Regions from separate parts of the Homo sapiens genome. Here regions 1, 2, 3 and 4 are each linked to region 5. The links are contacts of gene promoters, found by promoter capture Hi-C in blood cells and fetal thymus (Javierre and others, 2016). All regions are on one chromosome and are shown on one strand. The core of a region is centred on a gene start or on the middle of the fragment in contact, and the rest is flanking DNA. Distances in the headings are between cores, read along the strand shown.

What was found. The method cuts DNA at HindIII sites, captures the fragments that hold promoters and counts their contacts. A CHiCAGO score of 5 or more calls a contact.
Region 1: a contact is called between a fragment that was not itself captured here and the fragment with the promoter of SGMS1 in region 5, in 8 of 17 cell types (total B cells, monocytes, M0 macrophages and 5 more). The highest score is 10.4, in total B cells.
Region 2: a contact is called between a fragment that was not itself captured here and the fragment with the promoter of SGMS1 in region 5, in 6 of 17 cell types (total B cells, naive B cells, M2 macrophages and 3 more). The highest score is 9.5, in total B cells.
Region 3: a fragment that was not itself captured here is called in contact with the fragment with the promoter of SGMS1 in region 5 in 1 of 17 cell types (total B cells); the score reaches 5.7 in total B cells.
Region 4: a contact is called between a fragment that was not itself captured here and the fragment with the promoter of SGMS1 in region 5, in 4 of 17 cell types (monocytes, total B cells, M0 macrophages and 1 more). The highest score is 10.1, in monocytes.

What each region holds. Positions count from the first base shown.
Region 1 is chr10:50,362,020-50,364,719 of GRCh38, forward strand. All of the region lies in intron 6 of SGMS1 (sphingomyelin synthase 1), which reads right to left. Among named protein-coding and RNA genes, the nearest start is that of ASAH2, 110 kb to the left of the region's middle. RefSeq lists an enhancer at 873-942. The HindIII fragment of the contact is 9,892 bases long and covers 1-2,700 here.
Region 2 is chr10:50,249,447-50,252,180 of GRCh38, forward strand. It overlaps ASAH2 (N-acylsphingosine amidohydrolase 2), which reads right to left and starts at 2,070. Exons shown (of 21, transcript NM_019893.4): 1 at 1,949-2,070. RefSeq lists a silencer at 2,023-2,317. The HindIII fragment of the contact is 928 bases long and covers 930-1,857 here.
Region 3 is chr10:50,268,996-50,271,695 of GRCh38, forward strand. No RefSeq gene overlaps it. Among named protein-coding and RNA genes, the nearest start is that of ASAH2, 19 kb to the left of the region's middle. The HindIII fragment of the contact is 3,266 bases long and covers 1-2,700 here.
Region 4 is chr10:50,341,210-50,343,909 of GRCh38, forward strand. It overlaps SGMS1 (sphingomyelin synthase 1), which reads right to left. Exons shown (of 11, transcript NM_147156.4): 7 at 2,283-2,700. Among named protein-coding and RNA genes, the nearest start is that of ASAH2, 91 kb to the left of the region's middle. The HindIII fragment of the contact is 1,522 bases long and covers 595-2,116 here.
Region 5 is chr10:50,622,523-50,625,222 of GRCh38, forward strand. SGMS1 (sphingomyelin synthase 1) reads right to left here and starts at 1,434. Exons shown (of 11, transcript NM_147156.4): 1 at 1,185-1,434. It overlaps SGMS1-AS1 (SGMS1 antisense RNA 1), which reads left to right and starts at 2,429. Exons shown (of 4, transcript NR_126411.1): 1 at 2,429-2,669. RefSeq lists enhancers at 192-591, 1,303-1,831 and silencers at 782-1,121, 1,382-1,641, 1,690-1,847, 1,972-2,601. The HindIII fragment of the contact is 12,791 bases long and covers 1-2,700 here.

The sequences.
Region 1 (2,700 bases), core at 46-2,545, 260 kb before region 5:
TCCTTTGTCCTTTCATTTGCTTTGGAATCTCTAGAGCCTAATGCATAGTACACACTTAATAGATGTTTCCTGAATACCTAATTAAATGAGAATGCAAAGGAGATGACTTATGGTTCCAGAACATGGACCCAGTGATGCGTATCTCCTTTATATATCAAGCACATAAAAATCTACATAAAATATAACTGCTGACATTTTAATACCATAATCAGTTTCAAAATAAAGAAAAAGAATTTCTCATGTGTCAAAAGAAGAAAAATCTCAAATTCAGAGTAGAAAAGATACAAGTTAACACTTATATCCCACAGGGATATCAGACTTGGACTCTAGCTGCTAGGGGTTGGGGACTTAAGATCCCAGCCAGGGCAGAGGACTGAAACTTAGACCTTGAATAAAGCAAGAATCTCTCTAAGACCAGAAAAACTGGATCCATGAAACTGACACACAATGATACAGAGTCCAGATTTATACTATCTGCGTAGTGTGAAATTTCCAAGCCAAGAAATTAAGGTAAATATAAAAGAAAAATAAATATAAATAGCTCCTTAAAGGCGCTTCAAAAAGCAATGGTTCATAGGACTCCCATGGAAAAAGTAATCTTTGCTGAGGATGAGCAAATAATTGAAAATTATGAATCACACAAGGAAATGATCCACCATGAGGGAGATTTGCCAGGTGTGACAAACAGGAAGTTTACCAAACCATGAATTTGATCATATAAAACAGGTTTGAAGAGGCTATGAAATAAAGAATTGAAACCACAATGTAAAAACAAGACATGATTTTTTTCTTAAAGATAGATGTGTTTAAAGAAGGTACGGAGAAACCCTAGGTTCTCTCCTCTGGCCTGTGACCCACTGATACTTCAGGAGGAAAGAAGAGAGAGCAACATGTTAAAAGCAGATCAAAAGAGGAAGTGAAATCAGCAAAAAAATAAAGTATATAAATATAAAGACAACTGACAAATTTTGTCAAGCCCCAAGGATCTCAACAATCTAGCACCCACATCTTTTTTGGGGGGTGAAAAGGGAAATAAAAAACTGAATCCAGTTAATTGAAAGATGAATCAGATTTCCAAAAAGGTATTTCACTGGACATATACATTCTATCTCACTGTCTCCAAAAACTCCTCTGAAATGGTAGTAAAAAGATTTTCTTTTTTAAAAAAAGGGACAAGAAATCAAAACAGTCGAAGAGAACAGAAGAGAAGAGAACAGAAGAGGAGAAAACAGGGACACGATTTCGGAAGTTGGGAAGCACATGAATCAGTGGTGACGGATCTGGCAGGCCCAAAACAAGGAGCCCTAAGCCAGCAAAGGGGAAAGAAGCATTCTGATTTACATAACACTAAATATTTCCTCTAGCCTTAAAAGTATGAGGAATTGGTGGCATCAAGTACCTTGGAAATGGTGTGAAAGTGGAGTTAAAAGACCACTTAATAAGTTTCTCTAGATTCTCACTTTGTACAGCTGAGCAACTGCCTCTTCCCCACACCATAGAATACTGAAGTTTATCCTCTGGAAAAGAGACATGGAGAGTTTCTAGAGTAGTGGACATTAAACACAGTTGAAAGCAGTGGTATCTGACTAAAAACAAGGGACAAAGTGAAAGTTGCAAAAAGATTAAGTAGGATCTGCCCTTGCCTTTTACCTTCTTAGGCACCCAGAATAACTTGCAGGTTAATGATCAGATGAATTTTTTTCTAGAAATACCCAAGATTTTAAGAAAAAAGACTTAAGGATACTGATCATCTTACACTGAAACCATATAAACAAGCTCACCTCATGCAAAGAGTTTCCAAACAGTTTTATTTGTGCCTACTTTAAAATATGAAAAAAAATCACCAGGTATCTGAAGAAACTCTCTAATAAATATAAAAGCCAGAGATGAAGATAAAAAACAAACAAACTAAAAGAACTTGGAAAACAGACTATGAAAAACTATTACTAACATTTTCAAAGACATAAGGTATCAAAAAAGAACAAGATGGTACCACAAAAAGGAGAGAGAATTTTAAAAAGAGAGCTCCTGTAAATTCCTAGTCAATATGAACAATTCAATAGGAACAATAGAAAAAGTTGAAAAAAAATTTCAGATGTGAAACAAAATGAAAGATGGAAAATTGAGAGAAGAGAATAATAAAAAAGCAATCTAGAAGCCCAAGATCTGAATAGCAGGAGTTCAAGAAAATCCAAGAAAAAAACAAACAAAGATTTAGAAATATTTTAAATCTAAAAAGAGAAAATTTAAAAAAATTATCAGAACTAAAGGAGACATGAGTTGGCAGACTGAAAGTTCATCAAATGTCCAAAAACAATGGCTGAAAGTACACTTTCTGTTATTACCATTCCACACTAATTAATTTTTTTAAAAAGGATAAGAAGATCTTGAAGAATGCTCCAGCCCCATCCTGCTTTTCACTTTCTGGTTGTACTTCCCTCCATCTCACCCCAACCAGAAGGGCTAGTCTCCATCCTTGACCTTCCTTATTAGGACTTTTGTCCCTAACCAGAAGAGCTACTGAGGACCTAAAGCACAAGGACAATGTTCCTGATATCCAAAAGTAGAGTTTTGATTGTACTTCCAATCACAACCTTGTAATGGGCAATAGTGCCTCCTTAACACTAAAGAAGTGATGAGAACAATAACACCATAAACTTTACATACATGTTATGTAAAATAATCGTTCCCTCCAGCTTT
Region 2 (2,734 bases), core at 144-2,643, 370 kb before region 5:
TAGAAAGAAATATAATATGGTGGTTAAAAATTTAGTTTTGAAATCTGACTCCAGCAGTCAAATTTCATTTCTGCCACTTACTGGATGACTTTGGGAAATCCTCCCCCAATACTGAACATCAGCTTCACCATCTATAAATAGGAATATGATTATGATCATCTTATCTCAAAGTTCTTATAAAACCTATCTCATAAATTTCTTATAAAAATAAGATGAGATGAAGCAACAGTACTTCTTTTGTTCAATAAATGCTCAAACTGGTAGCATTTTTTAATAGATTCCAAAGTAGCAAAGAGTCTGTGCTCTTCCCTGTCCTTTAAGGGAATTTACAGGAGGCTAGTGTTAAAGGATGATTGGAATCACAGGTGGGACCTTCAGAGCCCATTTTCTTAACCTGTGCTTTAGGAAGCCTGAGAGGTGAAATGGTATTGGAATCCCAGGATTTGCCCCCAAAATAGGGGATTTGTGGCTAAGATGCTGCTACCCCCAAGAGTTAATAAATGGCAACAATGTAGATGTATTTAGTACAGTCAATTTTTTATTCAATTTGACTTAGGTAACAAGATATAAAAAAATAGCATTCAGAGTTTATAAAGAGTTTACATTTACAATCCTGAAATTTCAAATTATCTCCTAAAATAATTCGTAAAATATGATGACACTGAGCCAGCATTCCCGTGTGCCAAGAGTTTCCTAAAACTCAGTGCTGTTGTTCTCTTTAGATGGGGGATATATTCTTCAACCTGCCAATCTCTACCCAGCAGGCCTTATTTATCTAAGTTACTACCTGGTCTGTGCAAGCATTTGATTTTGCAATTCCTGGGCTAGAGGTGAAAGATCAGTCTAACAGCAGACACTTCAGAGGGTAGGCTGAACTGGGAGTGGGCAAAGAGACTGGAACATCTTCCCAAATTTTCTGGTTATTGGGAAGCTTTCCTCATCCACTTATCACCACCATAATGCCCTTAACCACCAGCAGCAGGGACAACTTCAAATGTGGAGCAAAACAAGTCAGATCTGTGACTTATGATCAACTTCTATTGTCAGTTTCCAGGAGTCAGGAAACACATCTAAGACATGCCTCTGAACTCTAAGGATCTACAGATAATTACTACTCATTAGCAGCTGTTTCACCAGCAAACTTCAAACCCAGTATCTCTAGTTTTTGCTCAGGGCTTTGGTTCTCTAAGCCTTCCTACTAGCCAAGATGACTGACAGCTGGACCTCCCAACCCCAGAGCATGGACAGGCAGATTGTGTATGTAAATGTGGTCATGTGTTAGAAGCCTGTGTATCAAACAGAGAGGGTACAAAATAATACTTCTTTTTTGTTTCTAGTTTTGCGTTGGTGAGCTGATGATATTTTATGCCACTCAACAATGGCACTTGATTTAACATTAGTGTTTCCACCTATTACGTGGACTTGAATGATCTACCTCATGTGTTTCATCATTCTGTTTAGCTGCCAGAATTGTTGCCAACACAGTAACATTCTTTTTGAACCACTTTAGCTAACTTGACCACCACCTTTAAGGAACTTAAAACTTGGGTTAGCACTATTTATTTCTCATTGGTGATTAAAATCTGAATTTGAATGTTAAAGCAGATGCCTTCCCTGCCTTTAGAATGAAACACTCCTTGGTAGAGCTAAGCCAATAATTATATCTTAAAGGATTCTAGATTTTATAATGGTTCACACTTAATCTGTAATAATCCTGAAAACTCAGTAATGAGGCTCTCATGGCACAATAGCAAGCCGTTTGCCACATCTTCACATAACGGGGTCCCTGTTTTTCAAGGAGAGAGTAAAAGGTAACAATTTGGCAAAAGAGGGTTCCAAAGCTATGAGATAAATTGAAGCTTTAGGGTCTCTTCAAGATCTCTGAGACAATAGGATAATTCAAGAGCCCTCCTTCCCTCCTTCCCCAAGAAAACATAGCTGTCCTTACCTGATTCTAGTACTCAAAAGAGGTTTTGCATCCCAGTGAAGCAAATGGCCATCCAGAATCCTGTCCCCTTTCCCCTTGCACGTTGCTGGGCTTACACCTCTCAGCACTTTCTGAAACCTACTGAGAAAAATTTTCAGTCAAGTCCAGGAGTGTTAGAGCTCTCATTAGCATACCTTTGTGGGCTTGGTACAAGTATGAGATTAAAGAGTATTGATAACAAAAGGCTTATACATGAACTCTCTCTTAGGGCAGACTGTTATCAAAGATAGAAGTTGCAGAAGGCCTGCTGGACTGAAGGTCATTTCACTTTTTCTGTAACTTTTCCAGCATGACAAGTTCTGTGCAAAGCTTATAACCTGAATCACAAAAAAACAAAACAAAACAAAAAAAACACCTACTTCATTTAACACTGGTCGTTCTACAGCAAAGAGATTAGTAATATATGCTGGACATCAGTGTGGGCTGTGGATAGCAATGGGCAATATTTCCACCAATTTCAGAACAGAAAACTAATCAATTTTTATGAGTGCTCATAAAAAGAATGCAAAATTTTAGATTTACTAAATGTGAGTAGTAACTAATACAGCAAGACTGCTATGCAACTATTAAAAATCACACTGAAAATAATTTAATGACATGCAAAAATTGCCAAATATTAAGTAATTTTAAGTTTATAAAACAATACGATCCCATTTGTAAACATTACATATGTTTACTTTATATACATCATATACTTTATATATATTACATATTAAAGACTGTAAGTACAGGAAAATGTTAAGAGGT
Region 3 (2,700 bases), core at 29-2,528, 350 kb before region 5:
GGCCAGGGCAATCAGGCAGGAGAAGGAAATAAAGGGTATTCAATTAGGAAAAGAGGAAGTCAAATTGTCCCTGTTTGCAGATGACATGATTGTATACCTAGAAAACCCCATCATCTCAGCCCAAAATCTCCTTAAGCTGATAGGCAACTTCAGCAAAGTCTCAGGATACAAAATCAATGTGCAAAAATCACAAGCATTCTTATACACCAATAACAGACAAACAGAGAGCCAAATCATGAGTGAACTTCCATTCACAATTGCTTCAAAGAGAATAAAATACCTAGGAATCCAACTTACAAGGGATGTGAAGGACCTCTTCAAGGAGAACTACAAACCACTGCTCAATGAAATAAAAGAGGATACAAACAAATGGAAGAACATTCCATGCCCATGGGTAGGAAGAATCAACATTGTGAAAATGGCCATACTGCCCAAGGTAATTTATAGATTGAATGCCATCCCCATGAAGCTACCAATGACTTTCTTCACAGAATTGGAAAAAACTACTTTAAAGTTCATATGGAACAAAAAAAGAGCCCACATTGCCAAGTCAATCCTAAGCCAAAAGAACAAAGCTGGAGGCATCACGCTACCTGACTTCAAAGTATACTGCAAGGCTACAGTAACCAAAACAGCATGGTACTGGTACCAAAACAGAGATATAGATCAATGGAACAGAACAGAGCCCTCAAAAATAATGCCACATATCTACAACTATCTCATCTTTGACAAATCTGACAAAAACAAGAAATGGGGAAAGGATTCCCTATTTAATAAATGGTGCTGGGAAAATGGGCTAGCCATATGGAGAAAGCTGAAACTGTATCCCTTCCTTACACCTTATACAAAAATTAATTCAAGATGGATTAAAGACTTAAATGTTAGACCTAAAACCGTAAAAACCCTAGAAGAAAACCTAGGCAATACCAGTCAGGACATAGGCATGGGCAAGGACTTCATGTCTAAAACACCAAAAGCAATGGCAACAGAAGCCAAAATTGACAAATGGGATCTAATTAAACTAAAGAGCTTGTGGACAGCAAGAGAAACTACCATCAGAGTGAACAGGCAACCTACAGAGTGGGAGAAAATTTTTGCAATCTACTCATCTGACAAAGGGCTAATATCCAGAATCTACAAAGAACACAAACAAATTTACAAGAAAAAAAAAAACCCATCAACAAGTGGGCGAAGGATATGAACAGACACTTCTCAAAAGAAGACATTTATGCAGCCAAAAGACACATGAAAAAATGCTCATCATCACTGACCATCAGAGAAATGCAAATCAAAACCACAATGAGATACCATCTCACACCAGTTAGAATGGAGATCATTAAAAAGTCAGGAAACAACAGGTGCTGGAGAGGATGTGGAGAAATAGGAACACTTTTACACTGTTGGTGGGACTGTAAACTAGTTCAACCATTGTGGAAGTCAGTGTGGCAATTCCTCAGGGATCTAGAACTAGAAATACCATTTGACCCAGCAATCCCATTACTGGGTATGTACCCACAGGATTATAAATCATGCTGCTATAAAGAGACACGCACACATATGTTTATTGTGGCACTATTCACAATAGCAGAGACTTGGAACCAACCCAAATGTCCAAAAATGATAGACTGGATTAAGAAAATGTGGCACATATACACCATGGACTACTATGCAGCCATAAAAAATGATGAGTTCATGTCCTTTGTAGGGACATGGATGAAGCTGGAAACCATCATTCTCAGCAAACTATCGCAAGGACAAAAAACCAAACACCACATGTTCTTACTCATAGGTGGGAATTGAACAATGAGAACACATGGACACAGGAAGGGGAATATCACACACCAGGGCCTGTTGTGGGTTGGTGGGGAGGGATAGCATTAGGAGATATACCTAATGTTAAATGACAAGTTATTGGGTGCAGCACACCAACGTGGCACATGTATACATATGTAACAAACCTGCACGTTGGGCGCATGTATCCTTAAACTTAAAGTATAATAAAAAAAAATTAAACATAAAAAAAAGAGAACAGCACAGATGTGATGATCAATAACAATGGGTGTGGATGAGACAATAGGAACCCCTGCCAGACTGTCACAGTCAGAAAATATGTGCCCCATCTAAAGGGAACTGTCACTACTCATTGGTGCCATGAGAAAATGCAGGCCCAATGTTGACGGATCCTCCCATTTCTTTTAATGACAAGTCAGTAATGCAGGTGTTTATCTCAAATTTCTTGATTTTCAAATGTCGGCCAACAATTCCTAAAAAAGAAACCCAAACATGTTTATCGCTCTTCAGATCAACACTATGCAGGACAAAATGAAAATAGGTTGTCCACAAGTTGCAACCTCTGATTTAATCCATTCTTTCATTCACAAATACTTTCCGAGCATCTATGGAGTACCAGACACTGTGCTAGAACAAAAGGATACAATTCATAAGATGAAGTTCCTGCCCTAAAAATATTACAATCAAATGTCAAAATAGAGATGATGTCCAAGTAATTACAGTATTGAACTGTGAGTACCTCTGGGGTATGTAAGAGGAAACCCTAACCCAGACTTGAAGAGGATCAGAAATAGCTTTGACAGGTGGAGATCAGAAAGGTAGCTGTTAACTTAGTGCAACTCTGGCTGCATAACAAACCACCCCAAAACGTAATAGTTTAAAATAACAACAATGTGTTATCTCATAATC
Region 4 (2,700 bases), core at 106-2,605, 280 kb before region 5:
TTTTAACCTTCTCTATGAGAGCCAGGAAAAGGTAGTTTATCCATCTTCACTGCTTGATGTGTCATCTGTATCTTTCTTCCTACCTCCTACCTGTCTGGTGGGCCAGATACACTGAAGAGAGGTCACAGGGAGAGAGACAGGAAACCAGCGATGGACCCCAGTAGAAGGACAGGGTGGACGATGCTTAGGAAGATCATGACGACTCTGCTTTCATTTCCCACATCCCTATCCCGCCAGAGGTGAAAATCAGAGAGGACTTAGTTGGATGCATTCTGGACACAAACGCTCTGAAGCTAATAAAATTCAATATAATTGGCCCATCCAATTATGTTAGAATCTAATAAAATGTAGTTGTATATATATATGACAACAGAAATCATCTAGACTGAGACGTCATTATTCCGTTTGTGAGAAAAACGAGGCTCCTGAGATGTAAGGATCCACCCAAACCACTCAGCAAGTTGGACACACCTGAGGCCTCATTCCAGCACTGAGTTAATTTTGTCAAATCAACTGGTTTCTTGCTTTGAGCAATTTAAATATATAAATGACTACAGTATTGTCAATAAGTACCAGGAAAACGCAAAATCATAAAGCTTAAAGAGAAATAGATTTGAGGAAAATTTCCTGTTGGGAAAATTGTAATTATTAATATACTTTAAGAAAATTAGTTTTATGGTTAAGAGGATACTTTATAAGAATAAAATTACTTAAAAGTCACAGTTCTGTGAAAGATTCTGATTCGTAACTGTTAAGACTTACTCAAAGTTATATTGTGGGGTAGTAAATTATTTGCCTGAATTTAAAAATTTTGATGAAAAACCGGAAAAGGAGCAAACTTACAAAAACAAAACAACAAATATCAGGGAAAACTCAGGAAGCATAATTTGAGTTGACCTTGCCTTTGTACAGTACTGGTATTTTGTTCCAGTGGGATTTTAGGAAAAAAGTTTAAAAGTCAAAAAGGCAAAAGCAGAACTAAAGTTTGGCAGCAAAAATAATGCATTTAATAAACTCCAAGTATCTTGTATTTCTAAAGCCTATTCCTATTTATTAGCCTCTTAAAACCAAAGGAACAGAAAAAAACGTCTTCCACCAAATTAAATGCAGCCCAGACCAACAATTCTATTTCAGATTCAGCTTAAACTCTAGGACTGTCAAACCATCTGTAAATAAACACTGATCAGTTAAATGGCTTTCTTTATACCAGTTAAGACCGTCCATCCCTGGGAAAGTGTCAGGAACTGCTTTTATTTCAATTTGTAGATATATAATTTATCAGGTTAAAAAAAAGAGTTGTTATAAAACATACTAGGAAAAACCTTATCATTTCTGTCAAAGAACATTCAGCATGAACTCTCAGTGTGCATTTTGTTTTCTTGCTGTAAGATGAATTCCTTAATATTTAACCACATGGTGGATCATGAAACACACTCCACTGGAGAGAAACTCAGCTCTTTAACAAACCAATTTCCAACCCTCATTCATGGAAACCATAAGGCGTTCCTTTAACTAAGGAGAAAATCAAACATCAGTGAAGGGACAATGTAGGCAACCCCAGTAAACAGCCAGTCTGAGGGGGTCCATGTTGAGTTTAGAGCTTCAGATATGAAAGCCACCTTGGATACACCTGGAACTAAGTGGGAGTTGCCTACTTAAAACTCTGAGAAATTTGAATGCAACAGTCACATATTGTTTTAAGTAGTAGTAGTAGAAGGTGGGAATCCATTCAGGTCCATCCACTTCCCACCTACCCAAAGGCATACCCTTTGGTATTGTTTTCCCAACAACCCAAGCCACTCTGGAACAGGTGTTCTGAATTCTGTGTGAAACATCTTTAAATACATATTGCTAAGGCTCTAGATGTCTGACTCTGTGTGGGAAAAGCTATGCAGCCAATTTATAGTGCTTAGGCCAACTGTCGATTTATTTAATGGGTTAGTAACACCAACCAAGACTAGGTGGTTGATCTGTTGTTCAATAGCCTGTACTGTCTGAAGATGTCTGAGAGTTTTCTTTCTTATTAAGTGAAAACAGAGCATCATCTCTAACCATCTTATTCATCATCCTGTATGAATCTTGCATAAAACAGGCAACAAACAACATTTTCTTTTAAAGCTTCCAGACAGTAAGTTAGTCCAACAGGGTATGTGTTTAAAAAAGAAAAAAAAATAGTATGTTTTGATCCCAACAAGTTGATAAATTTCATTTATAAATAATAAGTAGATGTTTGGAGTGCAAATCCCATAATCATTGAATCTTAGAGCTTTTACTTGACTTACTTGTATTTTAAGAGCAGCCACTGAATTAACCAGAGTCCTACAAGGATCATGCCATTAATTTCACAAATAGAAAAGGCCCACTGCACCCGGTTAAAATGGTCAAAAAATGTGTCCGGTAGTGGAGGCTGCACCTCCTTAGGAGGTACTCGTTCGTGGACGACCGAGATCATCACTGTGGTGAGAACGAAACAGGAAAGTGCATAAAGAAAGGCCAGAAAAGTCTTGCCCCACTCCATGGGGTACTGAGAGCGCTCCAGTTCTGGCATGGGGATCTTTATCATCTCTTTCCTATACCCATTTGGCATCCCGTTGGGTTTAATCTTGATGCTGAAGCTGCCGTCGGGGGTGGGGATGTCTACGCCAATGTTGAGGTGCCCATTGGCATGGCCGTTCTTGTGTGCTTCCAAATGGTGCTCCA
Region 5 (2,700 bases), core at 184-2,683:
CAAACAGCTTTAAAGGTCCAGGAAGATAAATGTCAAGGGAGCTAAAATAGTCGACAGGCCCCAGAACATAGAAAATAAACTTCCCTTTCAGAAAGCAGCCTTCACTTGGTTTCGTAAGCGTGTACCGCTGAAGTCTGTACTGTTTGAAGGTGAAAAGAAACATCTGAGAAGCACCTGCCTGGATTCTCTTCGCTCCCTCCGGCCATGACAACCCTTATCCCGATTTCTACTTCGCGGCACCAAAGAGGAAAGCAGCATTCACCAGAACGCTCCAGGCTGAATCCGTTAGCTGGACTAGGGCACTCTATCCGGCCCACGGGAGGACGCCACAAGCCCGAGTTCGGGTTAAGACGGTGGGAGAGGCAGCCGCTGCTGCTGCTGTTTTGCCCTTGACACGTCGCTGGGGGATAGCGCAGACCCCCTCTGTCACGGAAAAGCGGCGTCCTGGAGAGACTGTCCAGTTCTGGGCTGCGCCGATTCCCCTCCAGGCCTTGCCCCTAAACGTCCCCGCCCCGCGGGGGCAGCCCTGCGGGGTCTCAGAGCCGCCCGCGAGCCTGGCGGGCTGTTACGCGGCCTGGAGAGAAGGGGAGCGCTCCTCGGGGAGGGGGGGTCCCACCTGTTTTGTCGTCAGGGGGCATCGAGGGGCTACGGTGGGGGGATCCCGAAATAGTGGGCGCCTGGCCGGCTGCGATCTGGACCGAAGGTACCAACTGTCACACCGCCACCTAGGCTGTGGGGGTGGAGCCGTGATTGGAGTCGGCCCCTGGGTGGGGGTCTCCGGACCCCGGGCGGGCTACTGCCCAAAGGCTCCCCGCCTCCCGATCGCCCCAATCCGACACCAGGCAGCCTTCCAGCCCGCACGCAGTAGCTCTGAAAAGGTGCCCACTGACGCCTCCTCCTTCCTCCCCGCCCCAACTTAGCCGGGGAGCCCCGCCGGCGGCCCGCCCCCTCCGAGCCCGGATCCCGGCCGCCGGACCTCCCCGCTGTGACCACCCACGGGAGCAGCAGCTCTGGAGGACTGCCCGCCAGGTACGCGCGCGGCACCGCGCGGGCTGCGCTCACGCCCCCTCGCCCCAGAGCAGCCCGCCCGCTGCTCCCCGGCATAAGGCCGGGCCCGCGAGACAGGTGTCCGATCGGCCCCCGCAACCGTGAGGCCGGCTGTCTGTCCCTGCCCCACGACTCACTTGCACTGGAGTCACGGCAGCCGCCGGAATTCCGCTCGCGGAGCCCCCGCCGCGGAATGAAATCCGGGGCAGGGCAGCGTCGGGGCTCCGCACCCCAATCGCGCTCTCCGACCGGCTCCCTAGGCGCGAGGGGAGAGCAGTCAGCCCAGGCCGGTCCTTCTCACTCCCGACCTGCCCGCCGCCTGCCGCCCGCAGCCGCTGCCCCGCTGGTGCGAACGCTTTCGACTTGCCACCGCGAGCCTCCCGGGCTGCCGAGCATGCCCAGTCCGCTGCCCGAGCCGGCCCGGCTTCCCGCGCGACGCGACTCCGCTCCTCCGGGTGTTCACTGCGGCCGGGGGGGCGGGCCGGCCGGGCGGGGTCCGCGGGGGGCTCCTCCCGGGACCGAGCGGGACCCCGAACCAAGGGACAGTCGCAGTTTGGGCCCCTTGAATTTTACTTTCAAGTAATGGGAAACTGAGGAGGCGGGCGCTTTCCCCAGCGTTTTTAGGGGCCCACTAAGTAAGGCCTAGCGGGAGCCAGATTTTACAATCTGGGACGGTAAATCCCTTGGGGCAGGGCCGGAGACGGGAGCCGCTAGAGCTGGTCACAAAGCAGGGAACGCAAACTCAGCCTGCTGGAAGCCAGGCACGAGTTTGCGAACTACTACTGGATTCTTTTTCCCACCAAGCCCAAGGGCTGCGACACTTGGGATTAATGCCCAATGGATCATTCCTAGGAAACGGCCGACCTGACTATTCGGCCCATTTTCAAACCTCTAACCATAGACTCTCATCTTTCTCCCACAACAGAAAAAAAAAGCCTCTGGCGACGCCTGGGAGCGCGACGGAGGCGCAAGAGCTCTAACCGCGCGAGGTGAAAACTCCGACTGCGTCAGAGCCGCCCCGCCCCGCCTGGGGCCCACCTTCCGCCGCCCCTCCGAGCTGCGGCGAAAACCCGGAGAGCGGCTAGGCCGGGGTCGGAGCCCGCGCATGCCCAGTAGCCCCACGTGGTGCAAGTCGCCTGAAGGAAGGTTTTCCTCTGCTCCCCGAGCGAAGCCCCAGCGCCCAAGTTAGGATGGACAGCGGGGAGAGCTGGCCTTCCCGCCCCGATGCCCGCCGTCCCTGGCCGGCCCGCGCCGCACCTCGGTGGCCTACAGGCAGCCCGAGGCCGTGCCTCCCGCGGGGTCGGGGACTTGGCGAGCGGGGGAAGGGGCGCGGCTACGGGCCCGGCGTACCACGTGACTGTCCGCGGCGCTCCGGGCAGCCATCTTCCGCCCGGCCATCGGGCCGCGGGCGCTCGGAACCGACCTGGGAGCTGGCGGGACCGTCCTCCCCCGCCACGCCCTCCCATCGGGCTTTGGGCGCCGGACTCTGGCCACCGCTCGGCACCTGCCTCCGCCTCGCCTTGGGGTATAGGAGTCCTGTACCGACCCCTGGCTTGCCCAGAGGACAGGTTCTCGCCCGGGCCAGAAGCAAACTGCGGCGAAATCGAGACAACAGAACTCAGGTGGCGGAGGGTCCCCGCTTTTCCCCAGAGG